Linked DNA regions of Homo sapiens: region 2 is linked to region 1. Evidence: promoter capture Hi-C in human tissues and cell types (Jung and others, 2019). All regions are on one chromosome and are shown on one strand. The core of a region is centred on a gene start or on the middle of the fragment in contact, and the rest is flanking DNA. Distances in the headings are between cores, read along the strand shown.

Region 1 (4,241 bases), core at 687-3,186:
TCTACGCCGCATTCTCTCAACTTCTCATCCTGTATCCCGATGTATAACATAGGTTCATCGGCTGTGACAAATGTACCACTCTAATGGGGGCGCTGATTGTGGAGGAGGCTCTGTGTGTGTGTGTGTGTGTGTGTGTGTGTGTGTGTGTGTGTGTGTAGGGGCAGGGGGTATACAGGAAATTGCTGTACCTTTTGCTGAATTCAACTTGAACCTAAAGCTGCTCTAAAAAATAAAACCTTTTTTTAAGGCTTATTTTTCCCTGTTGAAAATAAGGGAAGAGGCTTCCCTTTCCTCCCTTTTCTTGCAGAATTTCCTTCTCTGTCATTTTCAAATGTGTGTAAATCTTTTTAATGGCTAAACAAGCCTCTTGCCAGTCTAACAACTCAGTCATGTTTCCTCTGGGAGCCTCTTTGAGTCTTGACATCAAGGAGTAAGTGCCCCCACCCTCCCCGTTTCCTAAGAAGCCTGACTTCAGCTGTCACCTGACTCCAAATTGCAAAACCCACCTCCAGTCATAGAGATACAAGAAAATCAGCAATTTTATCCTGAAAACATGAATGCAGTGGGTTGTGTCTGCTTGGCTACAGAAGAGTGAGATCTCTCTCCATCTTTGCGATCTCTTAGGGGAGAGATCGTGATGCAGATCGCATTCCAGTTTAAAGTTTATTCAATAATAAAATTGTTTTTTTTTCCTTCTACCTTCGTGGAGAAGTTTTCTGGGTTGGCTGGAGATTTTGTTTTTAATTTTATGTCCCCACCAGGGCCCAGGTCCAGAGAGAAACATTGGAATGTGTGGCTTGGCAAGTAAGGGCGCCAGTGGAGGCAGCTGGGCGGCGTCCCTAGGGAGGGGCGTCCCTAGGGAGGACCGTCCCTGGGTTCAAGGGTGACATGCAGGTTCTGGTTTGTACCCTGTCTACTTTTGAAAACCTCCCACAGCAGAGGCAAGGTCACCCCTCTGCCCCAAGAATCACATAACCTCCTCTTCCTGGGCCTCAGTGTCTCATCTGTGAAATGGTCATAAAAATATACTGTTTGAAGGAAGAGCAGCCCAAACTCCTCCCCAAAGCTCCTCCCTCCCCTCCAGCAGAAGCCCCTGTGGAGCACCTGCCCCTCTCTCCTTTGATCTCAGAGCCTGTCCCCCACCACCCCAGCCATCTGAGTCATGAGTCCTGTGTTCCCAGCTCATCTCCCCAGCCGTGTGGGGGCTGCACATCCTGTGGGCTCCATGTTCGCTCTGCTCACTCCACAATCTCTGAGCCTCTGCTGTCTGCCAAGTGCTCGTTCTGGGCCCTGGGGAACTCTCCCTCCGCGGTGGGGCTGCTTTGTGCTGTAAACTGATCCTGGGCGTCCAGGGTGGCTTAGTTGGTGCAGCAGAGAGGCAAGGGGCAGAGCACTGTACCCCCAGCTCAGGGCAGCGCGGGTCACCTGGTCACCCTAGGCAGGATCTTCAAGGAGAGAGGGACCCAGGGAGGGAGAGTGCCAGGGAGGGAGGCAGGCAGGAAGAGAGCGGGAGGAGGGAGGCCTGACCTGGCCTGGCGTTTTGTGGGGTGTGGGGGGGTGCATCAGGAGCTGGGTGAGTTGGAGCCGGAGGTCTAAGGTGGGGACCTGGGAGCTCAGACCAGAGCAGCCAGGGGAGGGGCGGTCAAGGGCTGTCTGTCTGTCCGGGGAAGCTTGGGTTGCATCCTCGTGGAGACAAACAAGTTGGCACCAAGGCGAGACTACCTGCAGCCAGGTGAGAAAGGGGAGTGGGCTGGGGAGCTCGGAACAGGCCTTGGGAGGGAGGGAGATGGGCGTGAGGGCTGAGGGGCAGCGCAGGGGAAGAAAGGTTGGAGGGCTAGAGAGACACCTCCCCTCCTCCCCCCACCACTCCAGGGCAGGGCAGGGGCAGCCGCGGGCTGGGCGGGAGGGCTCAGGGAGGAAGGAGGCTCGGGAGCTAAACGCGGAGAGCACAGGGAGACCCCGGGCAGGGCGGGCTGCACTCGCGGTGGCACAGGGTGGCCGCGGCGGGTCCCAACCGCCTGGTGGCCCCTCGGGCTTAGCACGCCCGACAGCACTAACGCTCCGGGGCCGGCCCAGCAAATCTTTTGTCCGGGGCGGCGCTGAGCCAGCAGGGCGCTGCCCGGTGTAAACGGGGACCCGCGGAAGGGGCGGGGCGCACCATGGCGCAGCGCTCGGGGAAGGTGAGTGCGTCCCTCAACCCCAAGGAAACCGAGTGGGGCTCCGCCTTCGCCCCCTGTGCTAGGGGATGCAGGAGGGTGCACACTGTTGATGGTGACAAATCCAAGGGAAGCTGGTTTAATTTCTTAATAAAATGGGGTGGCCTCGCTACTGGCCTGGGGCCTCTCTGGTGTGGATGGATAGGAAGGTCTCCATCTCCACTCCTTCCTTCTGGGATTCCAACCCCTCGCCCTGCAGTCAGGAGCAGGGAGGGTGTTCAGACTCCCTGGGGCTTCCTTGGGGTGGGGGAGGCTTGGCTTGTCCCACAGCCCTCCGCCCCACTGCTGCGGCTTCTTTGCCCAAGGCTGGCCTCTATGGCTTTTCCTTCCCAGGGTCTCTTCAGGGACACTTAGGGCTGGTTCTCTGAAAAATGTTGAGATTTGAGGGAGCCCCGAATCCCTTTGGTGCCCAGACCTCCCTGAAGGTTTCAGGGGCCCTCTACCAGCCGTGCCTGGTGCAGGAAGGACGGGAGACCTGGCTCTCCCTCGCCCTCTCCAGTGCCCCTAGCCTAGCCACTCCCATGAAGCCTTTGGTCTCCAAGGCCACATTCCAGAGTGTCTGGGGGTGACTGTGTTGCTGTATCAGTCTGCATGGGCCAGGTGATGCTTCAGTAACAAAGGGCCCCAGTAACTCTGGGGTGCAGAACGCCAAGGTGTCTGCCTCCTTTCCGGTGAACGCATGTGGCCACGCCTGACTCCAAGGGGCCTGGAAGGGCAATTCTCGTGTTCTTTTGAGCGAACTGGAGACACTGGTGAGGCACAAGCGACCATAGTGATGGGGAACATCACTGCACTCTGGCAGGACCCTTCTAGGGCCACAGTTCTTGAAACCCAAAGAGTTACTAAATGGTTGAGATTTTAGGTTCCACAGCAGGAAATGAGTCTGGCGGGTTGTTATTGCTTCACTTTGTTTTGTTTCGGGACAAGGACAACCTGTGAGTGCCACGTAGCTATAAGACACGATGTCTGAACTCCCAGCAGGGTGATGGAGCTCCAGATCTGATACATGCCTGCTACCCAAAGGAGTGACCTACAAAACACAGAGAGACAGGGTGGCACTTATAAGCCCTCTTTTGCGAACATTAATCCCGAGCCAGGCCCTGACGCGGCTTCGGCCCATTCAGCCTCTCCAGTGAAGGAGGCCCAATCCCAGGAACCCGAATTTCTGCAAAATATATGCTGGGTTACCATGAGAGGGTTGTGGGTGAAATTTCTTCTTTTGAAAACACCTCCTTTAATGTTATTATCGGCTTTATGTTTTAATAATTAAAAAATGAGTTAAAAATGCAGTGGAAGTTGAAAACAGCCCATTTTGAAATGGGCACCTAGACAAAGGGGAAACCCCTGTCCCCAAATCGCTGCTGAAATTTGTCTGCCCCACTGTGAGCTCCTAAGGGTGGGGAGGAACAGTAGCTGTGTATGGCATCAGCCTGCCAGCTGTTCGTTCTTTTGCCCAATTGGCAAATAGTGTTGGGCACCTACTGTGTGCAGCAGGTCTGGGCTTTTGGGGGCCTGGGAGTAGGGGTTCCATCCAGGGTGTTGGGACCCAGACGCCAGCCTCCAACGCTGACGGAGAGAAGCCCCTGACCCTGAGCTCTGTAACCTGCCCTTTCTAGATCACTCTCTATGAAGGCAAGCACTTCACAGGGCAGAAGCTGGAGGTCTTCGGGGACTGTGACAACTTCCAGGACCGGGGCTTTATGAACCGAGTGAACTCCATCCACGTGGAGAGCGGAGCCTGGGTCTGCTTCAATCACCCCGACTTCCGGGGCCAGCAGTTCATCTTGGAGCACGGCGACTACCCCGACTTCTTCCGCTGGAACAGCCACAGTGACCACATGGGCTCCTGTCGGCCTGTAGGAATGGTGAGTGGGCCCGTCCACCGAAGGCTGAGTCTTCCTGCTGGAGGGACCGAGGGTCAGCCCTGGCAGACAGTGGCAAGGAATCGGGGAGCGTGGTCCTCCCGGCTTTAAAGTCTGTAAGACTGAAGGAGCTATACCCAGAGCCACCTGCTGGCATGAGGTG
Region 2 (4,241 bases), core at 816-3,315, 260 kb before region 1:
TGGCAGAGGTGTCTTCTGCCAGGTGTTCCCTTTTCTCCCTGGGCAGGCAGGTTAGGGAGCCCAGCATAGAGGCTGGGTCCCTGGAGAGATGAGCAGAGGTGAGTAGTACATGGACGGATGCTTAGAGGCAAAATCGTGCCCTTGGCAGTTTGACATTCACTCTACTTGCTCCAGTTCTCGGAACTGGAAGGCGAGAGGTATCACCCCCAGCTTCTGGCATTCCAGACCTACAGTCCTGAACTTGGACCCTTCCCAGGAGAGACCTTTGGGCTCTGGTCCTCGCCCTCCTTGCCATCACCTCATCCCCTCAACCAAAACTTTGCTATCCTAGGGGCTGTGCCCCCCAGGCCTTCACTCTGATCATTAATTCATGCTAGAGTCTTATTATCCAATAACAGGACTTGGTGTTTCTCCTGAGAGTATTTTAACTTGGGATTCTTGGGACTATGAATGCCTCCATCCTAAGGAATGCATTGCCAACTGGTGAGTGTGAAACTTCAAAGTTGCATTTGTCTGTGTACAGAGCGGACCTGGCAGTGCCCTGATGGGCTTCCTGGCAGATGGGGAGAGGAGATAGGGGAAGGAAGGCAAGCGGGTGGGCAGGGACCTGGCAAGACTGCCGTGGGGGCTCCCTCTGTGGGTGGGACTCTCAGGATCAGTGTGGACCTGCATCCCCATCCGTCTGCTGTCAGCATGGACGAAAGCTCCGGCCTGAATGTCTAGGTGGACTTTCTCATGTCAGGGAAGAGAGTCAGTGTGTGCCTACTGATGTCCCTTTGATGATGAGGCCTCCTCTCTCTTTTGGGGGACCGGCACTAGGGATGTAAAGGATGTGGAAGATGCAACTGGGCTACCCCAGCAACTTTTTCTGAAAATTAAACTTTTAACCTTTGCTTCTTTCTTAGAAAGCATTCTGCAGAACACCACCCTCCAATCGAACTCCCCGCACAGGGGGAAGTGTTCTGTATCCATGCTGTCCATCTTGGTAGCCACCAGCCACATCTGGCTGTTGAGCATTGGAAATACGGACAGTGCAGCTGGATTAGCACCCAGGGCTACCATACACAACAGAGCACCACACACCGGGTGGCTTCAAACAGCAGAAACTGACTCTCTCACAGTTCTGCCGGCCAGAAGGCTGAAGTCAAGGTGTGGGAAGGTTGGTTTCTACTGCAGGCCCTGAAGGAGAACCTGCTCCCCACCTGCCTCCTGGCCTCTGGCAGTTCTCGGCAATCCTTATTCTTTTTTTTTTTTTTTTGAGACAGAGTCTCGCTCTGTCGCCCAGGCTGGAGTGCAGTGGCGCAATCTCGGCTCACTGCAACCCCCGCTTCACGGGTTCACGCCATTCTCCTGCCTCAGCCTCCCGAGTAGCTGGGGACTACAGGTGCCCACCACCAGGCCGGCTAATTTTTTGTATTTTTAGTAGAGATGGGGTTTCACCGTGTTAGCCAGGATGGTCTCCATCTCCTGACCTCTCGATCTGCCCGTCTCGGCCTCCCAAAGTGCTGGGATTACAGGTGTGAGCCACCACGCCCGGCCGGCAATCCTTATTCTTTGGCTTAAAAAGATGCACCGCTCCAATCTCAGCTTCCATCTCCCTGTGTATCTGTGTCCACGTTTCCTCCTCCTTATAAAGACACCGGCCACTGGATGAGGACCCACCCTAGTATGACCTCATCTCAACTTGATTATATCTGCAATGACCCTATGTCTAAGGTCACATGCACAGGTACCAGGGTGAGGTTTTCATTGTATCTTTTTGGGGAGACACATTTCAACCCATAACAGCAACTAAGGAGCTGAACTTGAATTTTATAAAGAAATAGCTATGTGAGGCCAGTGGCTGCCTCTTGGACAGCACAGGTAGAGACTGGAGGGAGAAGGTGGCTAATTTAGTGTTTCTGTTCAGACCTCCTCCTCCCCCGGCCCAGTGACGCAGGCCTCAGGTCTGGGTCAGGTGCCTGCTCCAGTGGGGCTTCCCTGGGGGGCAGCCCCTGAGGAGTGGGAGGTGGAAGGGGGTGGACTCTTGTGCCTGACAGCTGAGGGGAGGAGAGGACAGGCGTCTGCTGGGTGCTCGTGTGTGCAGCACATTGCATGACTCAGTTGGCACATCAAGGCTGCATAATGCTCTGTGGTCTCGCCTGTGTGGAAATGCCTGGGACATCCTGTGTGATCCCTGCTCGGATTTCCCGGGCAGGCTGGATGGGTTCTGCATGGATGTTTGACCTCTAAACGGGCAGGCCAAGCACTGAGGATTATTTGGGGTTCGGCACAAGGCCAGGCTCCCCCCGTGTGGAGGGGATGGGTGTGGGAGGTTAAGGGAACTATGGCCTGGCCACATAAGGGGAAGCCTGGAAGCTACCGTCAGCTTCTCCAGGGCCTGGGACGCGTGGCGGAGATAGCCCCAGTCTTCTCCCAGAACTCAGATGATCTCCTACAGCAGGTGGCTCTCAGGGTGTGAGCCCCAGACCGGCAGGCCTGGCATTACCTGGAACCTCATCAGAAAAGCCAATTTCTGGACCTCCATCCCAGTTCCCAAATCTGAATCTCTGAGGGTGGGGCTCAGAAATCCACAGATTCACAAGCCTGCGTTAAAAAGGGGGTCCTGATTCTTGCCAAAATTCGGAACCCCTGGCCTACAGCCGCGTATCTCACCCTGACGTGTCTGTCGGTCACTGAAGAGTCTTGTCAAAGGGCAGATTCAGGCTCCGTAGGTCTGGGGTGGGGGCCTGGAGGTCTGCGTGTCTAACAAACAGGCTGCTGGTCCTCAGACCATACTCCAAGGAGCCAGAGTCTACAAACCTGAGCTCCACGAGGGCTGGGCTCTTCTCTGTCGTGTTCACTGTCCCCAGCACCCAGAACACAGCCCGGCGTATAATACGCCTCTTTCTTTTCTAGCCACTCAACTTAAAACACTGCTGCAGAAGGAGCTGCTAAACGTCACCCCCGATTTCCCTTGTTGGGGAGGAAACATCATTTTGCAATGATGCAATGACTTATTCAAAGACCTGTTTCCTATGAGATGACAGGACAAAAACCACATTGCCGAGAACTCCATCACCAGATTTCAGTGGAACTATTTCATTAATCTTGTATGCAGCAAAATGTTGGCAGGTACACAAGGCTCCTGTTGAGGCTGTTTCTGCAATGTGGGGGCACCCATCTGCGGCCGCCTGTGGCAGCAGAGCACTGCCCCTCTACTCCCTTCTTCCTCCGCTATGTACCCCAGTTTATCTTAGTCCCAGTCCTTCTTAAAGACCAGCCTATATCAAGAACCTCCCCACTGCCTCCTCTGAGGGCCTGAGCACCTTGCTGTGTCCCAGCCTCCTCGTCCTGCTTTCAATGATTGATGAAAAGATTGACGTGTCCTCCATCAGATGCTTCCTGCACTGTCTTAATGGCTCATGCATTTCTTTCTGGCCCGTAGGCTGGGTTCTGTTACCCCAAGCCCAGGCACTGCATATCCCACTTCCAGTTCTTCCCTGTACAGCCGGTGCCCAGTGAATACTTCTCATCTCATTGATTCACTGATTTATTTCAAAGCAAAAGTAGTCTGAAAGGCCCTTTGCCATTTCTTAATCATAAAACTAAACATCTCCAACAGGAAGGAGGGGCCTCCTGTGCTGGCCTTCATGATAAAGTCGCCGAGATGATCTCAATCCCAGTGAATTCACGGCTCCAGGGCCACCTTAGCGCCTCTTTCTCAGCAGGGGGCTGAGATGTAACCGGATCGTAACCACACAGGCATCCGGCCAGCAGTCAGCATCTCCCGGAGATCTGCTGGGACTAGGCCTGCAGGCAGCCTGACCGCAGGGAGGGAGGCAACCTTCGTGGGAGATCTTCAGAAATATTGTTCATTCGGTTTCTCAAGAGTCTCCAACTACAGTGCAGTTTAGCTTTCACAGCTTACATCCCAGGTGTCAAAGAGACACAACTTGGGGCAGGGATGGGGACAGAGGTCAGAGAAGGAAAGGTGGCCTAAGGGCATTGAGGGGTGCTCCCCAGAGTTTGCAGACTGGCTCTGCAGACTTGCAGGTCATTTCCTGTACCCTGTCCTGAAACCCTCCCACGGCCCGTTTGAGCCTATCAGTCATTTACACTGTAGCGAGAAGTTACCTGATTTCAGGACCTTCTTGCAGAGGTGGGTTTTCCTAGGGTTCCACGTGGCATCTCAGGGTGGCTTGGAGTGGTCCAAAGAGCCAAGTCCTTGCATCTGGATAGGTCTGCAAGGGGCTGACGCT

Evidence for each region. The method cuts DNA at HindIII sites, captures the fragments that hold promoters and counts their contacts. A contact is called where the count stands out against the background at its distance.
Region 2: a contact is called between a fragment that was not itself captured here and the fragment with the promoter of CRYGN in region 1, in 2 of the 25 tissues and cell types used here (H1 embryonic stem cells and bladder).

What each region holds. Positions count from the first base shown.
Region 1 is chr7:151,437,836-151,442,076 of GRCh38, reverse strand. It overlaps CRYGN (crystallin gamma N), which reads left to right and starts at 1,936. Exons shown (of 4, transcript NM_144727.3): 1 at 1,936-2,180; 2 at 3,833-4,081. The coding sequence starts at 2,160. RefSeq lists enhancers at 908-1,444, 2,156-2,656, 2,657-3,157, 3,519-4,241. The HindIII fragment of the contact is 10,973 bases long and covers 1-4,241 here.
Region 2 is chr7:151,698,860-151,703,100 of GRCh38, reverse strand. All of the region lies in intron 3 of PRKAG2 (protein kinase AMP-activated non-catalytic subunit gamma 2), which reads left to right. Among named protein-coding and RNA genes, the nearest start is that of PRKAG2-AS2, 110 kb to the left of the region's middle. The HindIII fragment of the contact is 7,961 bases long and covers 1-4,241 here.